Regions from separate parts of the Homo sapiens genome. Here all the other regions are linked to region 3. The links are contacts of gene promoters, found by promoter capture Hi-C in blood cells and fetal thymus (Javierre and others, 2016). All regions are on one chromosome and are shown on one strand. Each heading gives the region's core, a stretch centred on a gene start or on the middle of the fragment in contact. The rest is flanking DNA. Distances are from core to core; before and after follow the strand shown.

The links. The method cuts DNA at HindIII sites, captures the fragments that hold promoters and counts their contacts. A CHiCAGO score of 5 or more calls a contact.
Region 1: a contact is called between a fragment that was not itself captured here and the fragment with the promoter of CASC11 in region 3, in 1 of 17 cell types (monocytes). The highest score is 5.3, in monocytes.
Region 2: a contact is called between a fragment that was not itself captured here and the fragment with the promoter of CASC11 in region 3, in 1 of 17 cell types (neutrophils). The highest score is 5.4, in neutrophils.
Region 4: a fragment that was not itself captured here is called in contact with the fragment with the promoter of CASC11 in region 3 in 1 of 17 cell types (neutrophils); the score reaches 5.8 in neutrophils.
Region 5: a contact is called between a fragment that was not itself captured here and the fragment with the promoter of CASC11 in region 3, in 1 of 17 cell types (neutrophils). The highest score is 7.8, in neutrophils.
Region 6: a fragment that was not itself captured here is called in contact with the fragment with the promoter of CASC11 in region 3 in 4 of 17 cell types (monocytes, megakaryocytes, erythroblasts and 1 more); the score reaches 7.8 in monocytes.
Region 7: a fragment that was not itself captured here is called in contact with the fragment with the promoter of CASC11 in region 3 in 8 of 17 cell types (erythroblasts, monocytes, megakaryocytes and 5 more); the score reaches 17.4 in erythroblasts.

What each region holds. Positions count from the first base shown.
Region 1 is chr8:129,415,011-129,418,252 of GRCh38, reverse strand. The region is part of intron 2 of CCDC26 (CCDC26 long non-coding RNA); the gene reads left to right. Among named protein-coding and RNA genes, the nearest start is that of MIR3686, 68 kb to the left of the region's middle. RefSeq lists a silencer at 2,236-2,530. The HindIII fragment of the contact is 2,911 bases long and covers 1-2,831 here.
Region 2 is chr8:129,467,503-129,470,749 of GRCh38, reverse strand. All of the region lies in intron 2 of CCDC26 (CCDC26 long non-coding RNA), which reads left to right. Among named protein-coding and RNA genes, the nearest start is that of MIR3686, 15 kb to the left of the region's middle. The HindIII fragment of the contact is 7,441 bases long and covers 1-3,247 here.
Region 3 is chr8:127,732,474-127,735,364 of GRCh38, reverse strand. It overlaps CASC11 (cancer susceptibility 11), which reads left to right and starts at 1,398. Exons shown (of 4, transcript NR_117102.1): 1 at 1,398-1,540. RefSeq lists a silencer at 1,204-1,323, a cis regulatory region at 1-2,648 and an enhancer at 2,228-2,729. The HindIII fragment of the contact is 10,989 bases long and covers 1-1,620 here.
Region 4 is chr8:129,385,899-129,389,238 of GRCh38, reverse strand. All of the region lies in intron 2 of CCDC26 (CCDC26 long non-coding RNA), which reads left to right. Among named protein-coding and RNA genes, the nearest start is that of MIR3686, 97 kb to the left of the region's middle. The HindIII fragment of the contact is 4,270 bases long and covers 1-3,340 here.
Region 5 is chr8:129,525,115-129,528,155 of GRCh38, reverse strand. All of the region lies in intron 1 of CCDC26 (CCDC26 long non-coding RNA), which reads left to right. Among named protein-coding and RNA genes, the nearest start is that of MIR3686, 42 kb to the right of the region's middle. The HindIII fragment of the contact is 4,183 bases long and covers 1-3,041 here.
Region 6 is chr8:129,562,763-129,565,824 of GRCh38, reverse strand. All of the region lies in intron 1 of CCDC26 (CCDC26 long non-coding RNA), which reads left to right. Among named protein-coding and RNA genes, the nearest start is that of MIR3686, 80 kb to the right of the region's middle. The HindIII fragment of the contact is 487 bases long and covers 1,098-1,584 here.
Region 7 is chr8:129,542,716-129,545,611 of GRCh38, reverse strand. The region is part of intron 1 of CCDC26 (CCDC26 long non-coding RNA); the gene reads left to right. Among named protein-coding and RNA genes, the nearest start is that of MIR3686, 60 kb to the right of the region's middle. The HindIII fragment of the contact is 3,446 bases long and covers 1-2,896 here.

The sequences.
Region 1 (3,242 bases), core at 127-2,626, 1.7 Mb before region 3:
CAGCCTCCAACTCAGAAATGGTGCATATAGATTCTATGTTGTATGCTAAATGTGACTGACTGTTAATGGTTGTGGATTGCTGTCTTTCGAAAGATTCTGAGGTGATATATCTGGGCTTAAGGCAAAAAGAGTTCTGCTATGGTTGTTGGAAGAGGGAAGGGTGGCTGATATGTCTTACATTTATTTTCCTTTTAAGTTCTACCACTAGAAGAAAGAAAATGTTTCACAAATAAATATTATCTATTTCCCACCTTGTCCCACAATGATGTCACTCTTCTCTGAACTCCTGCAGTATGTACTATTTGACCCATTCAATCATAGCTTCCTAATGTTTTTTAGTGATCTGGTCAGGTATGCATATCTTTTCTATGCAAGTGAATGGCTTTGGACATGAATGTCTAGTGGAAGTCTTGAGTGGACTTCAAATGGCTTAGATAGAATCCTCACTTTACCATCTAATGCTGTTTCTATTGGAGCAAGTCATTTAATGGATCTAAGAACGATTTACTCTTCTGCACAAATAATATTGCACATGATTGTGGTTAAATGAGATAATGCAGATGTTTAGCCCATAGTAGGTTCTCAAACAGTGTTGCCACAGTCATCATGAAGGAATATAATGACCTCCAGTTTTGCAAAATGTGATTGCAATTTGTTTGAATGAACATTGGAAACGAGGAAGAAGTACTGTCCAGGAGATAGTGCCTTAGTTAATAGTCTTAGATTACTCTAACTCCTCATATGGGGCCATTGGTAGGGTGGTAAAGTATGTTGTATATTCCAATATCATGGGTACAACTGTCCCAATGGAAAGGAAAAGCCATCAGACTATCTTAATTGACATTTATTAAGCATTCAACTCTTTAACTCTTTTACATCTGATTCTATGCTTACTAAACTGTCTGCTTGTTACGATTTCTGCTCTCACACAGGGAGAAAACAGTCTTATGATGAAGATATGAATGTTCTGGTCACCATGACAATTATTTGTAACTGTAATTTACTAAATTGGTAAAGGTAGAATGGCCTGGTCATGAAAAGTTAATACTATAGTTTTTGTAATGGTAATTTCTCATTACAAATTAATCAGTTATCATTCTACAAGTCTCACAGGCTAGGATAATTACAGCCCTGAGTGATTGGATTTCTATAAACATTTTAAAAAATTAATCTACAAAGATGTGGACCAGATTGTGAGCCCTGATGAATTCACTAAGGTACTAAATGCGACACTGTGAGATGTTATATAGGACAGACGGTTGTCTTTTTCCTTAGTGTTTCCAGTATAGCCACTGGCAGAGTTTACTGAGATTCTTCTTGGAATATCTACAGGTCAAAATTCCATGAGATCATGAGTTATGAATTTTCTGTCTTTGTTCATTCATTTTCTCTGTCTGGAATGTTTCCCTTCTGCCATCTCCCCAGTGCATAGGAGGCTACGAGAATCAAGATTGATAATGGGTTCAGTATTACAGAGATACTTTGGAAATATAGTCATGACTAGGATAAACCAGTCTTTGCTTTTAAGTTGCTTACATGCTAAGAGGATGGATCTGGAAATACTTTATGTTTTCTAGAGTGTTCTACAATAAAGCTGTTATTAGAACTCATCCTTTATGACTCAGTTCAAATGTTGCCTCTTTGATACCATCTTTGATTCTTCCAGGAAAACTGAATTGTTTTCTGTGTTTCTGCAAATCTTCATACTCCCTTATAATAGAACAACCAAATTCCAAATTTTGATTATCTATTTTCATGTCTTTCTTACTTTCTAATTTCATTAAGAAGAAGAACTCTGGTTTTTATTAAATCATTGGCATCCAGCATCATTCCTGGAAACATAGTAGATGCTATTACATATTTGTAATACAGTTTGAGAGTGAGCTTTCAGTCCTATTATGGTCAGTGACCCAGCTATTTCCAAATCATGTGAACCAATGATCATTTCACCCATAAGATTCTGCATGAGGACCAAATAGTAATTGAAATATTACTGAACATAGCTGAATAAGTGCTATATTACCTTCAGTGGAGGGTCCTCTGGTCAAAGCTGGAATGGAGTAGATGACTTAGAATCAGGGCTGACATGGTATCATATACTCCTGCTAGTCCATCCACTCACTGTGCTCACACACGCAATCCAACTATAAGGGACATTCATAAGGTGTCTACAGAGAAAGGGAAAAAGTCAGGCCCCATGAAAATCCCTGAATCCAAATACCCACCTGGCCAGCTGGAATGATGAAAGAGAGGGCAGAGAATAACAAACCAGCCATGAGTAGTCGGCACTGCCTTAGGTTTGAGACAGGAAGCCTAAAAGACAAGCAGCTCCTGAGCACTGTCATTTTAACAGTCACTACACATGACTACAACTGCACACCAACCTGTGGCTAAACTGACCTAAACTGCTTAGATTAGCCAAACTTTCTCACCAGTGCTGAATCCCTCTAAACAAACCACTTAAGATCCTCTCACCTTCGCTTGTCTTGAGACATTCGTTACTAATTTCAACCACACCACAGCTGTGGTAACCAGTTCTGTGTGGATTCCTACCAACTTCACACAGCACAATTCAACAGCACCTCAGCTCATGCTTCACCTCCGTTCCTCTTGCCTCCTGCATGAGTTCCCTTTTGACTCTGAGGCTCTGTGGAACACAGAGCTGAAGGATCAGTTCTTCCTTCCTACCGTGCACTGTACTGAGATGCAATTGTTCATACTGCCTCTCTTAGCACAGTCTCGAAAGATCAATCAATCATTTGTACTCCACACCAAATGGAGGCCGGCTCCGTAATGGTTTATTGGCTCTCTCTGTTTCCCTACATTAAGCTTTGGGGAGCTATGAAAGAAGTCTGGCATGGGTACAGAAGGCTCGATTACCCTCTCCCTAGAGAGGGTTAATTAATTAATGATGAGACCCAGATTTAATGGGGTCCTTGAACTTGTCTGTACATTAGAATCACCTGAGGATCTTTAAAAAATTCTAAAGCTGAGGCCATGCCTGGACCATCTCAGTTACAATCTTATAGGAGTAGGACACAGGAAGTGAGATTTTTTTTAAAGCTCCCCAGTGATTCCAATGTGTAGGCCAGCTAAGGAACCTTTGAGATAAACAACAGCAGAAATAAACAAAAATAAATAATTCTTTGCAAGTTTTAATCACGATATTATTGTTCAAAAATTTAAAAGAGAATATATGTTTACCATCTTTGTATATAATATCAGGAGAAATACACTGACTA
Region 2 (3,247 bases), core at 632-3,131, 1.7 Mb before region 3:
GTGAGATAGGGACCATGATATGACTTGCCAGGCAGAGTATCTGCAATGTTTCAATGACACATGTAAAACACTTTGAACAGTACCTGAAACATATTAGGCATTCAGAAAATCATAAAGATTATTATTGTATATCATCAATTCTAAGATACATTTTTTTCCTCATTTTATCATTTCTATAATGGTTTATCTTTGCCCATTTTTTCGTATTAACATTTCTGAAATTGGAAAGCACTTAAAAATTGATAGAATCTCAGGCACAATGAGATATAGTATTATTATTTGGGTTGTTCCAGGATAAATCATGCAGGGAGGCAGTGGTTAGGTACTGTATTTAAGCTCTTATGAACTACAGAAAAGAAGGATTCTCTCTCTCTCTCTGAAATTCCATGTTTAATCCTAAACTTCTATTGTTATGTATAATTATGTCCATATATCTGTATGTATGGATACACAGATACAAAAGAAATAGATATAGCTGACTATATAGCCATGTCTATATTTGGAGAAACTAGACAAATATTTTAAAAACAGTTTTTTTTTGTACCATGAATTTCTGGGTAAAAGTTAACTTCTAATTTATACTATGAACTTAGTGCCTGGTACATAGGAGGCATTCTATAAAAGTTTACTTAGTAAATTAGATGAATTATTTTTAAAAATATTCTTTCCTAATGAATTTGTAATAATTTTTACTTGAAATTGTCATTTAAATAAGTCTATTTTCAGACTTTAATGACAACCTTATTAAAAATACTCAACCTCTCTTTTCCAGTTATCTTGGCCATTCCTTTTTTTTTGAGAGAGAGAGTCTCGCTCTGTCACCCAGGCTGGAGTGCAGTAGTGCAATCTCAGCTCACTGCAATCTCTGCCTCCCTCGTTCAAGTGATGCTTCTGCTTCAGCCTCCCGAGTATCTGGGACTACAGGTGAACGCCACGATGCCCAGCTAATTTTTGTATTTTTAGTAGAGATGGGGTTTCACCATATTGGCCAGGCTGGTCTTGAACTCCTGATCTTGTGATCTGCCTGCCTTGACCTCCCAAAGTGCTGGGATTACAGGTGTGTGCCACCGCGCCCAGCCTATCTTTCCCATTTCTTATTCATTTTCTTCCTCTGGCCTTTCCTTTTCCTCATCTGTTTCCCTTTAGCTGCTCAAATTCCTCTTTCCATCCTTTGTCCTCAGAAACTTCCATCTGAGGTCCTCAACAATCTCATACAACTTCAGTTTAGTTTTGAGTCAGGGCAATGAAGATAAAATATGAATGGGCTTAGGAAATGGTCTTCCGCATTCATAAAAGAAAAAAATGTAACATTGCTGCCAGGTCACCCAGAACAAGTTCCAATTCCCAATAGTCAGGGAAGAATTTTTAAAGTAAAAAAATCAATGGCTATGAAATTACACATTAGTCCAGGGCAGAGTACTCTGTTTTCCCAGTGAACATTCATCTTACTATAGTAATAGTGGCACAGACAATTTGCTGGAGTGAAGTTGATCTATAAGTGTTTTAATTAAAGTTCTGACAGCCAATTGAAGCCTTTTTTATCTTTTGGATGTATCTTATCAATCTTTCTCTGTCAGTGAATAGCTGTGCCCAGAGAGTTGAATGTATGAGGGAGGTGTAAGTTAACATTCTGGATGTAGTAACTGATCAGGAAGAAAGGGATATTATGGGTTTCTTTTCTTATAAGCTCCCCAAGCTCAAAATTCTATAAGGCATATCTTGATAAGTGTTTGCTGAACACAAGAATTGTTGAAGATTGCTCTGGGACTATGCTTTACCATAGGATGGGAATTTGGCCATGCTAGGTCTATTTGCTGGCTTTCTGTCTTAGAAGCTGTGTATTCTTGAACAAGATACTAAAACCTTCAAGTTTCACTTTTCTCACTTTTAAATAGGGACAATTAACACTTACCTTATCACAGCAGGCAGAGTTGAAATCAGACAAATAAAGAAGACAGTTAAGGCAATGACTGAGTGCTTATTACATGATAGATTTTATGTTAGGCATAGATGACATGGAGAAAACTAATCTTGCTAATTGTCCTTGAGGAGCTCCAAGTTTAGAAGGGAAGATGGACATTGCACGCCTAATGAAAATACAACATGAGGCCGGTCACGGTGACTCATGCCTATAATCCCAGCACTTTGAGAGGCCAAAGGGTGGATTATTTGAGATCAGGAGTTGAAGACCAGCCTGGTCAACATGGTGAAATGCAGTCTCTACTAAAAACACAAAAATTAGCCAGGTAGTGGTGTGCGCCTATAATCCCAGTTACTTGGGAGGCTGAGGCAGGAGAATTGCTTGAGCCTGGGAGGCAGAGGTTGCAGTGAGCCAAGATTGTCCCACTGAACTCTAGTCTGGGCAACAGAGTGAGACCCTGTCTCAGAAAAAGAAAAAAAGGCAAAACAAACAAACATAAAACACGTAAAGGGCTGTCTAAAGTGAGTCACGTAGTGCCACAGGGTACCTTGGATGGAGGCATGGGCTTTCAATGGAGAGGCAGGGCATCCAAGGCTTCCCAGGGATGAGAGGAGAACATGAGATCCATGGAGGTGGGAGTTGCTCTCTTCTGTTCACTGCAATGTTCCCAGCAACTCGAACAGTGCTTGACATATATTAGATCCTACCCCCAAAATTCGATGAATAAATAAATGACTGATTTTGAACTGTGAATTGGAAAAAGATGACAGAGATAACTATGACTTGAGGTGAGGAGTATATGAAGACAAGGCATTCCTGCCTACTCTGTAGGGCCTCAGATTTTTCTGGCACTAGAAAATGGGATCTCAATTTTCTAGTGCTAAATGGGGGCTCCTCTTTCCCCTGCAACTGCCCCCTTAGGCAGATCTATCCTCACTGCAAGAAATGGGGTTTGATACAATGACTGAGACAATTCTGCTTTTATTAATCAGTTCCCAATACTTGTTATCATTACGGACTTCTGGGGGATATTGGGAATTGAATTCTGACAAAAATTAAAGGAAGCTGGAAGAAGTTATTCAACTTTCCAGTATCACCATTACCTTGGTGCCAACAAATCCCCCATATTTCTTGTGCTTACTATAATTCAAAATGTTGCAAACAAATAATTATACAACTTAAGAGAGCCAAGCAGATGGTCAGTGCCTCAAACACAGATTGACCACTGGCTCTATTTTTGACTGCTGATATTAAAAGCAAAATTCAAGTAGGCACTTAATAAGATATTTATTAAATAAGTGAATATGGCTTATGTGTTGTCCCACA
Region 3 (2,891 bases), core at 149-2,648:
CCACCCAGACTGAGTCCCCCAATTTGCTGCCAAAGCAGCAGATACCGCCCCTCCTGCCCCGCCTGCTCAGGCTTCCGTGGGGCCCCGTGCGGGAGGCGTCTGTTTAGCCCTGAGATGTGTCTGCCTGTTCCAGAGCTGGGCTAGGGCGAGAGGGAGGTTGCCTGCTCTCTGCCAGTCTGTACCCCACCGTCCCACCCCCACGCCTCCCACACGGAGTTCCCAATTTCTCAGCCAGGTTTCAGAAGAGACAAATCCCCTTTGCGCCCTGTGGCGCCGGTTTGCAACAGTCTCGGGCTGCCGGGTTTGGGAGAAATCAAAGGTGCTAGACGGGAGAATATGGGAGGGGCAGGGGGTACCCGAACCGCGGGACCGGACTTCCTAAAAGGGGCAAGTGGAGAGCTTGTGGACCGAGCCGGGGGAGTCAGCAGAGACCCTTGTGAAAAAAACCGTTAACTCTTTCCTCCCCGGACAAACCGGACGTTTAATTCCTTTCCAGGTCCTCTTTCCCCTTTTATTATTGGAAATGCGGTCATGCACAAAAAATGCATCGATTCTGATCAAAGAAGAGGAGAGGAGTATTACTTCCGTGCCTTTTTTTGGGGGGGGGGGAGTCTTGAGCTAATTAAAATTTGGCTGCCTTCCAGGCATTAATTTCCTAGTTCACTGACTCACAATTTTTTCTGAATACTAGTGAAAGTGCACTGTATGTAACCCGCAAACGTGTATTCACATTTTATTTACGCTTCGACTTAGCTAGTTGCCCAGCCCCACACATGATTTGTTTGCTCCCTGAAATGATCTATATTTAATATATAATGTATATTCCCTCGGGATTTTTTATTTTGTGTTATTCCACGGCATGAAAAACAAAAAACATTCTTCTCATCCTTGGTCCCTCACCCAAAGGCATTTTAAGTAAACTTTTCTCTCCCTCCACCACCTCCAAAAGAGAAAACAATTCGGGGGAAAGGGGTGCGTGTATAGCATGTACGCTGTTCAAGATGGGTTATTACCCGTTGAGTTTGCAGCTCAGCGTTCAAGTGTTAAGTGAATATAGTAGCTTCCAAATCCGATGCACTGCACAATTCAGCTTTAAGGATTGCAAATTACTCCTGCCTCCAGGCCTTTGCCGCAAACGCGGGGAGCAACCAATCGCTATGCTGGATTTTGCTGCAAAGCGTCTTTCCCTCCGCCCCCTCTCTGGGCAGCACCCGCGTTCAGGTTTGCGAAAGTAAAGTAAGTGTGCCCTCTACTGGCAGCAGAGATCATCGCGCCTGGATGTCAACGAGGGCGGGGGTCAGGTGGGGGCAGGAGCAGGAGCGTCCGAGGTGCAAGGTTTCCAGCGGGGGAAGGACAGGCGGTTCCTTAAAACAAGTTTCCAGCCACCTCCTTGTTATTCTTTCAGGTTGGCTGCAGAAGGTCCGAAGAAAGAGGAGTTACTGGAGGAAAAAGTGGTTCAGAGGTGACTATTCAACCGCATAAGAGATGGTGAAAATTAACCTATCACCACTGCTAATGAACATCACCCTATGGAGAACCGGTAATGGCAAACGTGAAATAATTCACAAGTACATAGACGAAAAAAAAATTCCAACAAACCCTAAAACGGCCAAACAAGCTTTAGCCCCCACGTCTTAGAAACTCATCATCTTTTTTAACCACAAAATTTGAAAGCAAGACACTGGATTTATTGGGGAAAGGGGAGGCACAGCAGAAGGTGATGGGTATTTGGTTTGGCCTATTATTATTAATTATTATTCTTATTATTTTTGAGACAGGGTCTCCTTCTGTCACCCAGGCTGGAGTGCAGTGGCACAATCAAAGCTCACTGCAGCCTCGATCCCCCCGGGCTCAAAGCAAACCTCCTACCTCAGCCTGATACCCCAGCCCAGTAGCTGGGAGTGCAGTGCACCACCACACCCGGTTAATTTTTTAAACTTTTTGTAGAGAGGCAGTCTGGTCATGTTGCCCAGGCTGGTCTCAAACTCCTCGGTTAAAGCGATCCTTCGGCCTTTGCCTCTGAAACTGCTGGGAATACAAGTGCGAGTCATCGCTCCTGGCCTTGGCTTATTATTTTTACTTTTAAAATATTGGGCTGGTGAATAATAAGTGATTTTTTTTAATAGCAAGAAGGGGTATTTGAGATCTCATAGAAAAAAAGTGTGAAGGAATAGGAGCATTTTATTAAAGGTTTTAATACTAAAATGAGTATGCAATAAGGTTGAAGTAAATGTGAAGGAAATTTACCTGGCACGTGTCCCTGGTCAAGTAGGTTTTTACGGGGCAAAGAATCCCTGACGGTGTCTGATCACTTAGATGCCCTAAGGACTTCTGGCAGTGGAGGTTCCTTCCCGCAGGAGCCTTGTAGGCTGATTTCCCAGGAATCTGGCACTTTTGGCATTACTCTAATTGAAGCTAAATGAGTGCTCTCCACAGGGGCATGCACTCCCCGCCCCTCAAAGAAAACCCTCAACAACAAACAAACAACAATGGCAAAACCAAAAGTAGGTCCAGCTTGACCTCATAGGGTAGTTTTTGAAAGTTGCTAAAGATGGCGGATATACCACATCTTCGGATCTGACTCTCAAATTATGCCAGTCCAGTGTAGGGCATGTGAACCCCAGGCAGATATAATGCCTGTGGGTTCAGAACTTAACCTCACTCTCCCTCAGGCTGGTGACATCACCTGAGGTGTTACTTTCAAGTAACAGCTTGGAGTTGTTTTGTGCCATCTCCATTTTTACATGAGAGAAAACAAAGCCAGACCTCAGCCAGGTTAAAGGACATAACTGATTTTCTTTTAGTAATTTTTGAGACATATTTGACCTAGAATAGACATTTGCTGGGTTGAAAAATGGCTGAGATTACAACTAGTATCATGTATAACTACC
Region 4 (3,340 bases), core at 301-2,800, 1.7 Mb before region 3:
GCAAATGGCCAGGCTCTGCACATGTTGCATCAGCTTCAGAAAGAAATCCTCTTGGCCAAAGCACGTGGAGTCAGAATCTTTGCCAATGGGCTGCACAAATGAGGATTTAGATGTACAAATGGCATTGCCCAGTGAGCTACTGGCACGTTCCTGTGCTTTCCATGCTCCTGTAAATTCTTCTCGAAAGGTGAATTGTTTTTAACAATCAAAGCCTGGCTTTGATGGTAGCTGCCATGAGGCAGGCCTTAGCCCCGGGGTCTGCACATGGACCCTCCTGCTTGCTCTGATCACTCACACCCCGCACCTCAGTCCCCATCCAGCAACTGCTGTGTCCTCCCCTTCCCGTGGCTTCTTTTTCTTTAAGTGGGATTTCTCCCAGTTTGGGCCCCTGCTCAGCTGCCTCAGTTGGCAATAGCTATTGGGAATGGGTGTTCAGAGCCTCCAGCTGCCTCCCCAAGGCAGCCAGTACTCCACCCTTCTCAAAAGCTCTGCATGTCTGGCTTGTCTTTCTGCTTTGTGTCTCTCTTTTCTCTTATTCACAAATATACTACTTAAAAATAAAATTTAACGAACAAAGAACCTCCCTGCTCATACCATGTTCTTGCTCATACCTATGCAGAGTCTTTCCATTATCTTTGATGCCAGGCCTAGCATCCCAGGTGCGGAAGTTTGGGCCTCTCATGATGCAGCAATGAGTGCCCACAGGACGTGGCCTGAGCATTTCTCTTGGCAAATGTCATTGCTTGCTGTGTGTGGTGCTACGGGGGTGTGAGTCTTCTGACTTTCAGCCTCTTGAGGGCTGGGTCCACATCTGCATGTCTGACTGAATCTGATACTTCTCACAGCACAAGGCAGAGCTCCTGATTCAGGGTATATGTTCTGTGAATATTTGCTGCATGCAAAAAAGAATGAATGAGTTATCTGAGTAACATTGTGCATCCGAGCAAAGCAGGAGCTGTGATATTGAACAAAAGACTTGAATGACTGCTTTTTTCTTATGCATTCTTTTATTTGGAAAATATTTTTAAGCAGAAAATCATGAAGAATAATAAAAACAAAGTATCTTGCACCCATTATCTAAAACTGAATTGGTAATGGTTTTTCTTCATATCTGCTTTAGATCTTTAATAAATGAAATAAATGTGACTGTATGTCCTACATCCCATTCCTGTTGTCTTCCATGTCTCCTCAGAGGTAAGTACTATTAACTCTATATAGAGGTATACAGTATATATAGTCTTCTCTGTATATATTTTATCTTTTCTTATACTTTTATGTACAAATACGTGTATCAACCAGTACGTAGCAGGAATCAGCAGATTATGGCCTGTGAGACAAATCCAATTCATGACTTGCTTTTGTAAGGATTCCAAGCTAAGAATGGTTGTCACACTTTAAAGAGCTGTAAAACAAACAAACACAAATAATATACTACAGAGTCTGTATGTGGCCTACTAAACCTATAATATTTACTCTTTGTCCTTTATAGAAAAGTTTGCCAAATCTGATATATAATATTAGCTTTGTTTTAAGCTATAAAAATGTATCATATCCTGTAATCATTCCAAAATTTGTTTCAATTTTCAGCCCTACATTTCTTGAATTCTGTCCTTATGGATATATACATTCTGCTTTAGTTCTTTTAATGGCTGCATAATATTCCACCATATTGATATAACATATTTTAAATTCATTCCCCCATGTAATTGACAGTTATATTGTTTCTGTCTTTTTCACTATGAAAAAAATTGCAAGAAATAATCTGGTACCTTGTGGACTTGAGAATTTTTTAAAGAATACATTCTTGGAAATGGAGTTACCAGTTTATAGAGGTTGTACATTCTCAATGTTGCTGGACAGAACCAAACTATTCTTGGCAGGAGTTGTAAATGTTTCAACAATGTCTTAGTCTGTTTTGTGCTATTGTAACAGAAACCGAAGACTGGGTAGTTTACAATGAACAGCAATTTATTTCTCACAGTTCTGGAGGCTGGGTAGTCCAAGATTAAGAGGCCAGCATATGATAAGGGCCTTCTTGCTTTATCATCTCATAATGGAAGAGCAAAGAGAGAGTGGGAGATAGACAAAGTGGATCAAATTCATCTTTTTATAAGAAAACCATTCCCCCAATAATGAATCCACTCCCACAATAATGGCGTTAATTCATTCTTGAGAGCAGAGCCTTCATGACATAATCACCACTTAAAGTCCCCACTTCTCAACACCTTTGCACTGAGGGTCAAGTTTTAACACACGAGCCTGGAGGAACACATTCAAACAATAACCTTCCCTTTGAGATACATTCTTAATCTCGCCAGGCTTTAGCTCTCCCATTGACCCAGCTAATGGGAAGCCTAAGTCCTGTCCTAATGACCTTCAGTGCTCTATTTCCTCCATGTAACAGACAAAACATCACAAGTAAAATCTCTTTGAAGAGCTGCAAGTTGCAGGTAAAATAAGAGTGTTGTCGGTCTAAAGAGGTTACATGCAAGAATATCAAGAAAGGTTCTCTCTAGCCTGAGTAGAAATAACAGAGGCAGAAGACTCTCTGAGAGACTTTGTCAAGAGGATGCCGAACAGCATTCCACTTCAGAGCAACGTCTAGTGACAGGTGTTCTGCTCTGTGGCAATTTGGCCCACTGCACACTTTCCCCAGGTGCTGTCGGTGATTGCTGTGGTTGGGGACCACTTCCCTCTAGGTTCACAACTCTAGGGACAAAGACTGACAGAGCAGATCCCCAGTGAAGCCAGTTGTGATTGCACCAAAGAATCTGTTGAGCATTTATGGTGTAACTCATGCTGACCCATAGTCTGGAGCCAAGGCAGGAGAAAGGAAGTCATGATATAAAATCCTTGCTTCAAGTTGTTAGTGGTCTAACTATTGCCTGGCATGAGAACCAATAGGTCCTTAGCTCTGTGGGGATCTCCTTGATCCTTGTAACATAAGAGATCGTCACACGTGTTCTAAACACAAAGTGAAATAAACTCACAGGACTGGGTCCAAGCTGTAGGTCCTTTGGGTATATTTGTTGGTTGCTCTGGCCATTTTTTGTTACCTGGAAAATGAAAAGATTGGAGCAATTCATTTTCCTTATTAAAAAATATATTCCTCATTAACACATATATTCCTCATTATGTACTGACTTCTTCATTCCCTGCCACTACTGCATATTGAAGGTCTATCATCTCTCATATGGACTATTGCAATAGGCAGCTAATTGGTCTATCTGGCTCCAGTCTCTCCCTGGTCTACAGTGCCGCCAAAGGGATGTCTCTTGCATATGAAACTGAAACTTTCAGAATCCCATTGTCTCCACCTGAAGTCCAAACACTTAATGCA
Region 5 (3,041 bases), core at 300-2,799, 1.8 Mb before region 3:
CTTTTCCTCCTATAGAAACCATAGTTTGGAAGGAATTCTCTGTGTGGTGCTGTGACACCTTAGGGGAGGGGCAGCATGGTCAAGGAGGACTGTTTCTCTTACTGTTTAATCATAGATTTTCTTGGTTCTGTGGTCCAGGAGGATGTCTCAACCTTACTCCCAATTTCTGAGATATTCATGATGGTATTTTTTTGCCTGTGGATAGTTGTTAGTTGAACTTCTATATGAGGAAATGAAGCCAGAGAACTCCCATTCTTTTTTTTTTTTGAGATGGAGTCTTGCTTTGTCACCCAGGGTGGAGTGTACTTGCACAATCTTGGCTCACTGCAACCTCCACCTCCTGAGTTTAAGCAATTCTCTTGCCTCAGCCTCCCAAGTAGCTGGGATTACAGGCACCTGCCACCATGCTCAGCTAGTTTTTGTATTTTTAGTAGAGATGAAGTTTCACCATGTTGGCCAGGATGGTCTCAAACCCCGACCTCAAGTGATTCGCCCACCTAGGCATCCCAAAGTGCTGGGATTACAGGCATGAACCACAGTGCCCAGCCAGAGAACTCCTATTTTTCCATCTTGGTGACATTACTCTTCATCTATTTTAAGCTGCTTGTCCTTCTGAGACTTTTAGCTCGATAAGTGTAATTCCTTGTCATTTTCCTGGTCTTAGAACTCTTCAAATCTCTTTTCTCCCTCAGCTACTCCATTCATTTGGGTACCAAATTCTATTGTGTTTCTATAATCTTCCTTCTCAAGTCTGACACTTACCCATATTTTCTATAACGTTTCTTCTCAACTGTGACACTTACCATATTGATTATTTTGTCCCCATTGCTACTGATTTCCCTAGTGCAAATCATCTGAGCTCATAGTTGGACTACTGAAATACCTTCCTGTGTGTGACATTATTATTTCCTCCATAGTAACCCATTCTATGTTTCCTCCATTAGCAGTAACCATGTGTTACAATGAGACTGGCCACACTCACATTTCCAACAATGATACCTCATGGGATATAATACCATATCCTTAACATCTTCACATTGTGATTGATTGCAGGAAATACATTTAATCCAGGTAATGATGTACTTTCTCATGGTCAAACTGATAGGTCCATGTGTAACCTTCCATGTATAGCTTTACAACCTAAGTTGGCCCACTCACTGTGAAACACTGGATTCCCTGGGCAAAGAGAAGCTCTGTTGGATTTGTGTTATGAGTGCATGAAGACTAAGATTACTGTGGTTTGCTTGACTGTGTGTTGGAAGCCAGTCTAAGGACCAAGCTGAAAGACAAGAGAGGGAGGAGTCAGGAAAATTGCAGAGAAAATGATTTAGAGGCCTTAATAATCGTCCTTAAGTTCCCTCTCTGGATCTCAGTTTTGTTAACTTGACAATTTACTTTATGGCTTAAAGCATTTTTAGTTAGGTATTCTTTTACATGTGCAACTCTTCAGTTCCCAAGTAAGCTCCCATCTTAGTTGTGACCTTATCTACCAATGCCAATATCTGTTATAATATTTATTATAAAGGCAATAGCTAACATTTAGTGAAGACTTATGTGTTCTCTGGACTACTCTAATAGTTTAAATGTATTATCTCATTTATAATTCATGGTAATCTTATAAGTTAGATATTTTTAAGGACTTATTTTACAGATGACAAAACTGAAGCCCAGAAAGTTAAATAATTTGGCCAAGGCCACCTGGCTAATATGGAATAGCAGATATATTACTTCGACATGACTACATGACAAATTACCCCAAATCTAGCAGCTTAAAACAGCAAACACTAATAATCACACTACATGTGTGGGTAAAGAATCTGGGCACAGCTTGTCTGGTGCTTTTGGTTCAAGGTCTCTCATCAGTGGCAGTCAAGCTATTGTGCTGGGCTGCAGTTTCATCTGGAAGCTAGACTGTGGGAGTTGGGGAATTCAATTCTAATCTCTCTCATGTGGTTTTTAGCAGGCCTTGGTTCCTGAACACGTGGCTATCTCTACAGTGTAGTCTCATGAGATTGCACTTAATTTTCCCCAGGACTAGTGATCTGAGAGAGAGTGAGCAAAAGATAGTAGGAGTAATAGAAACTATGATGTGCAGATGCACACATGAGGAGTAGAGGTGAGAGAGAGAAAAAGAAAGAGAGATAACACCTAAGATAGAAGCCATAATCTTTTGTAACCTAATGTCACTAGTGACATCCTATCATCTTCGCTGCATTCTATTTGATGGAAGGAGAGGACAAAGGCATAAATTCCAAAAGGTGGGGCTCACTGGGGCTATCATAGAGGTTGTCTACCCCAGTCACTATTCAAATTCTTGTAGTCAGAGTCCACACTATACTGGCTAACTATCGTTATACTTTACAGAGTTTCTAATGCCTGACTTTGTAGGGTCACTCCTCTCTCAAAATTCCTCCAGGCATTCATGATAAATTCTAATGCTATTACACATCTCAGTCTGTCTCTCATAAATCCACACCAAATGCATATTCAAAAAAATTTATTTTAATATTTTTTAAACCTTTTAATTTTATTTTTTGTGAGCATATAGTAGGTATATATATTTATGGGGTACATTAGATGTTTTGATACATTGGATAAAATAGGGTATCTATTGCCTCAAGCATTTATCCTTTGTGTTAAAACAATCCAATTATACTCTTAGTTATTTTTAAATGTACAATTAAATTATTATTGACTATAGTAACCCTGGTGTGCTATCAAATACCAGGTCTTCTTCATTCTTTCTTTTTTTTTGTACATACTAACCATCCCCACTTCCCCCTGTCCCCTAACTACTCTTCTCAGCCTCTGGTAACCATTCTTCTACACTCTATCTCCAGGACTTCAGTTTTAAATTTTAAATTTTAACTCCTATAGATAAGTGAGAACATGTGATATTTGTCTTTCTGTGCCTGGTTTATTTCACTTAACATAATGAACACTGGTTCTATCCATGTTTGTACAAATGATAGGATCTCATTTTTTTATGGCTGAATAGTACTCCATTGTGTATAAGTAGAACATTTTTCTTTGTCCACTTA
Region 6 (3,062 bases), core at 92-2,591, 1.8 Mb before region 3:
CAGTGGGAAGCAGCCACTTCTCACCCGCCAACTTTCTGTGGTTGGAGAATCTAGATCCCTAAATAGCCTCTCCTTTGTGTGCAGAGTTCTAAACATGGCATCCTTTCCCCCTTCAGATCAAAAATTTTGCCTTCATGTCCAATTCATGTGATGCTTGGCCTCTCAAGGAGGACCTGAAAAAGAAGCCAGATGTAAAGACAATAATGCCTGTAGTCTCCTTGCTTGTCTGCATTCTCCCCCTTCCTGGAATCCCCACAGCCGCCAGGCCATTCTTCACAATAAATCCAGGGTAATCTTTCCAAAACACAGGTCCTATCATGCCATACCTTGCTTGAAACTCCATCCATTGGCTTCCCTTTATTTCAAAGCCTACACTAGCTAATTTAGCAAAATAGTCCCGTCCTAATGTGACTCCTTCCCACTTCTCTCTTTACTTCCCAGAGGGCCCTCAGACCTGGTCCCTCCAGTCCCTTTCCATGCACCTTTGCATCATGTATACTCAGCAATAGTGGCTGACTACCTGGATGTTTTCAACTTAAACTAAGAGGGGATGGGGATACGGAGAGCAAGAGAACAATGAACACTCTGAGCAATGTCAACGTGGGCAGCTGGTCCACTCATCGTGCCATATGCCCCTAGGAAGCCAGAGAGGACAGCTATGACTCTTGTTCTTCGCTTCATTGGTGTCAGTCCCCACATGCCCCCCAGAGTGGGAGCATCTCAGAGCATGCTGTCTTTGAACAACATCACCTCCAATTGTTAACTGCTTCATATTTCTCAAATAGTGATCTGATCACAACTCTGTGGAGAAACTGGCTGTGATGGGCTTACTGAGAGACAGTGTATTGGGCTACAAGAAAGCTCCTTCCAAAATGGGACTTTGTAAGGATACATTTGACTCTTTGCAATTTTCAGTTTTTGTGCTGACTCTGGGTATCTTAAGTGGATAACAATCCCTTCCAATGTAAGTGCAGTTCCTCAAGCTTTTTCAGGCCCCCCATAATGTCCCTCCATCTGACAAGTCCTCCTGTATTCATGTTGTGGCTGATTCTGTTCATCATTCAAGCCTCAGCCCAAACTGCCTCTCCTTGGAAGCTTCCTCGGATCCTCCCCAGACTGCACTTAATTATTTACTCTTTTGTGGGAACAGCACAGCCTTCTATGCTTGAAACAAGATTCTCATTGGGAGTGGTAAATTGTCGACTTCATAATTCTAATATTCCTTTTATCTTTACTGCTTGACATAAAACAGAACTTTCTGTGATAAATGGGTCTATTTGCCCTGAAATAGAGTTTTTACTGAAAAGGCAAAATAAACACTTAACTACTTCTTTTTAATTCCCAATTCGGAAAGGGAGAAATTGTTTTTAAGAATCATTCCAAATGGTGACAAATGAGGTTTTGTTTCTGGCTTTCTCTTTTTTGAGTCATTATGGACTCGTGGCTCTAGTGTATTCAGTATATTTTAATTTGCTATAATCACTACTCTTTTTAGTGTTTCAATCATCACAATTTGGGTCAGCAAGAGCTCCTTCCACCTGGTTCTTGTGTTCTTTTGATATGCCCAATTACTCTTTGAAAGCTTCTTTGCCTTTGAACATAACAATATGTTCTAGGCGTATTTTGTACCTTCCCTAATTCAGTCCTGAAAGCAGCCAGTTCTACAAGAACTCTTGATTTTACAAAGCAAAATCTGGTGCCAGGTGTGGTTATTGATACTGGATGACATGGTGGCTAGGCCATTTCAATGAATTAAGACAGAAAATATGTAATTAATAAAACAGAAAGTTCATTTAACTGTCATCACTTCAATTTTAACATTAGTTTTATGCTTAATTTTTGATTTCATGATTGGCTTTTGTTCTCTTAGAACACCATTAATAGAATTCCTCATTTGCTTTCTTGAATGATACAAAGAGAATAGTTTCAAAATAACAATATGAATGTGAACATAAAATAGTCAGATTTAGTTTAAAATTTGATGTAGTTCTTTTGTCCATGAAGTGTATCCCACTAAGAATGTACAAAGTGCTGTGTTCTCAAACATCTTGGGGAAAAAATAATTGTTTCTCTGTGTGATAATATTTCTAAATTGATATATGGTTATATTTATTTGTCTTGGTTTATTTTTAATTTTAGAAATATTTTTAAAAATTAGCTTTACTTTTAATGAATAATGAACCCACATTATTCAAAGGGCATGATGGTATAGAAAGGTATACACAAAGAAGTTTTGTTTCTCTTTCCCTTACATATATTCCCAATGCATTTCCTATAAGGTAACTACTTTTATTAGTTTTTTGTTTACATTCTCTGTGTTTTTCGTCCTCCTGTTTTTGCAGATATATGAAACATATAGAGGTTCATATTTTCTTCCCTTACACAAAAGGTAGCATATTATAACTCTTCTACGCTTTCCTGTTTTCACTTTGCAATACACTCAGATGAATTTTCCATATTACTACATAGATACTGTCCCCATTCTTTTGAATAGCTGCATGTTACTCCATTGTGTGTCAGTTTATTTAACTGTTCCCCATTGCTGAACACTTGAGTTGTTTTTAATGTTTTGATTTATGAATAATGCTATAATGAATGACCTTACACATTTGTCATCTCATGCTTTTGCAAATGTTTCTGTAGGGTAGATTTCTAGAAATAGAATTAATGGGTCAAAGAGAAAGTCAATTGTAACTTTGCTAAACCCATAAACATTTTATTTCTATGCAATATTGGCTACCTTAAAATGATTCAAAGTGAAAGAATAAATTCATCTTAAAAAGTTATTTTAAAAATATAATACAAAGCAGATATGTAGGATGAACAAGTCTAGAGATCTAATTGTATAACATGAGGACTATAGTAACAAAGTTGTATTGCTGGTGATATATATATTTTTTATTATACTTTAAGTTTTAGGGTACATGTGCACAACGTGCAGGTTAGTTACATATGTATACATGTGCTATGCTGGTGTGCTGCACCCACTAACTCGTCATCTAGCATTAGGTATATCTCCCAATGCTATCCCTCCCCTCTCCCCCCACCCCACAACAGTCCCC
Region 7 (2,896 bases), core at 326-2,825, 1.8 Mb before region 3:
AGAAACTCTTGGATTTAATTTAGTTCTACATTTCTAACCAGTATGTTTGTTGGATGGAAGCATCTAGAGGCCTTAGAATTGTTTGTTGTGTTTTCTTTCGTCTTCTTGGCAATGCTGCTGACTTTGTTTCTTTTCCTGTGTGTCTCCAGAGTCTTTCATGATTTTAATTCTTTCTAGTTTTCAGTTGTACAGGATCACTTTTGCCCCTTCTTTTAAAATGTTATTATTATTATTATTATTATTATTATTATTATTGAGATGGAGTCTTGCTCTGTCACTGAGGCTGGAGTGCAGTGGTGCGATCTTGCCTCAATGCAGCCTCTGCCTCCCAGGTTCAGGCAATTCTTCTGCCTCAGCCTCCCAAGTAGCTGGGATTACAGGCACCTGCCACCATGCTGGCTAATTTTTGTATTTTTAGTAGAGATGGGGTTCCGCCATGTTGGCCAGGCTGGTTTCAAACTCCTGACCTCAAGTGATCCACCCACCTCGGCCTCCCAAACTGCTGGGATTACAAGCATGAGCCACTGTGCCCGGCCTTCTTTTTCTAAAATTTTGATTTGAAGTCTAGTTCATCAGTTTGCCTGCCCAGCTGTTGTCCTTGTCATTGATGAGATGGTGACTTTCCCTTCCAGGAACCCATTTTTTCTGACATGATTAGCAGTGATCTTCACTGCAAAGCCCAGTTACCAGTATCATTTTGATAGCAGGTCCACACTTTGCAAATGTTCCTTTCCCTAAAAGGTCATGATCTTCAACAAGAAGAGAGCAAAGTATCATCTGGGCCAGCAAGTCCTTTAATTTTTACCTGGGGTTGGATGGAACTTGTATTATGATATAATCTCGATAAGCCTGGGCTCAAACTGTGTCTCTACTGCTTCTGTAAAACAGGAGCACCAATGCCTGCTTTCCTGGGTTGTGGGGAGGGTTCACTATGGTAATAAGTATGAAAGCTACTTGCTCAGTCCCTGTCTCATAGCCTCTAATAAGGACTAAGGATGCTTTCTCACCATAAAGTCAACTTCAGAGGTCCATGTAGCTGTTTACCTTGTGTGAACTAGCTCAGTTGAGTAGAAACTGGTAGGCTTGATGGTGATTCAGGTAAAACTGATTTTCTCAGTTTCTCCTGGGATTTTTTTCTATTCCTATTCCATATAAGAACAATTTATTCTAAGACAGAGATTTGAGATTCTGTTTTTGGAATGAAAAAGGCTGGATTTGAGTTTTGGCTTGCTTACTCACTAGCTGTGCAACCCTATGCAAGGTACGTAAACTCTCTAAACTCTAATTTTCTTATTTGTAAAATAGGAACAATAGTAGTAGCTGCCTCATAGGGTGTTTATAATTCATGAGAGAATGTGCATACACTTAGCACATTGTGTGGCCCATAAGAAGCACTCATGGCTGGGTGCAATGGCTGCTGTAATCCCAGCACTTTGGGAGGCCATGGCAGGAGGATTGCTTGAGCCCAGGAATTCAAGACCAGCCTGAGCAACATGGAGAAACCCCATCTCTACCAAAAATACAAAAATTAGCCTGGTGTGGTGGCATGCATCTGTAGTCCCAGCTACTTGAGAGGCTGAGGTGGGAGGATCATCTGAGCCCAGGAAGTTGAGGCTGTGGTGAGTGGTGATCATGCCACTGCACTCCAGCCTGGATGACAGAGTAAGACTCTGTCTAATAAAAAAGAAGCATTGCTAATTCATTCATCCATTCATTGAGAACGTATTGAATATCTGCAATATGCCAGGCACTGCATGTCAGTCTTTACCATAATATCCAAGGTTACGTATTACGTAAATAGGAGAGCCAAGACTGTCAGATACTGGACTTCCCAAGCCCCATACTCTTTACCCAATGATGACTTTGAAAATAGATATTTTTGGGAAATTTATGACTTTTCACTAGTATTAGAGTTTTTGGTGCACTCTCTTCACTCAAACCTTTCTTTACATCTAAGTCTTTTATAGCCTCCATAATACTTCCAAATACACTCAAAGTTCAGGCTGGGTAAATACTCACAGAATGAATGAATTTGGTAAGCAAACCAATATTGAGTCTACATAGAAATTGTATATTCTTTACCGATTCCTACCCTCTATCTGACCATTGATATTTTTCTAATTATTCATTTTTACATTGAGGTTGATTTTTTTTCAAGCATTTCTCATAATTACCCAAATCCTACCAAGAATTCTTATTGCTTTCCAGGCTATGATGTTCAAACCACACTTTGCATGCCACGCATTTGAATGTTCAGTGGCTTAGGTTGGTGACAAGCCTAATTTTCACAATGTTCATTTCTGTCTCATTCATTGCTTTTGACAGGAGCCAGGCTTGCCACATCACACTTGGCCTGTCAGAAAGGTTGAAGAAACTTCCCCAGACCCAAATATTTGGTGGCTGAGTTGGTGTCCCTTTGCCTTACAAAACCTTTAATTGAAGGCAACACATGGATTCTAACTTGTTTAAAATGTCTCCAAGTCCTGGCATGCACTGAATCAAACCCGAGGCCCCAAGAGCTATCATCCACACAGAAACACAGCATTAGAGGGACCGGAGCTCAGGGTGGGGAGCCCTATAAGAATGTAGAGGTCTGTAAAATGGTTCCAATTCATTCTATGAGGTTTGGCAAAAGCCGGAACTCTTGTAGCCAGACACGTTCTGCATGAAGTTTAAATTGTCTTGACATTGGGGTAGGAGAAGTCCTCGCTCTCAGGGTCTACTAATTCATGATTCACTCATTAGGATTGTGTTTTGTGTAAAGTGTCCAAGATATCTAATGATTCCTGCTGAAATATTGTGAATGCTTTGCTTTCCCAATCTCGTCCCTTTACATACTTGGGCAAGATTAAATGGCTTTAGAATCTAGTACATCTTGATTTGTATTTAGGCCATG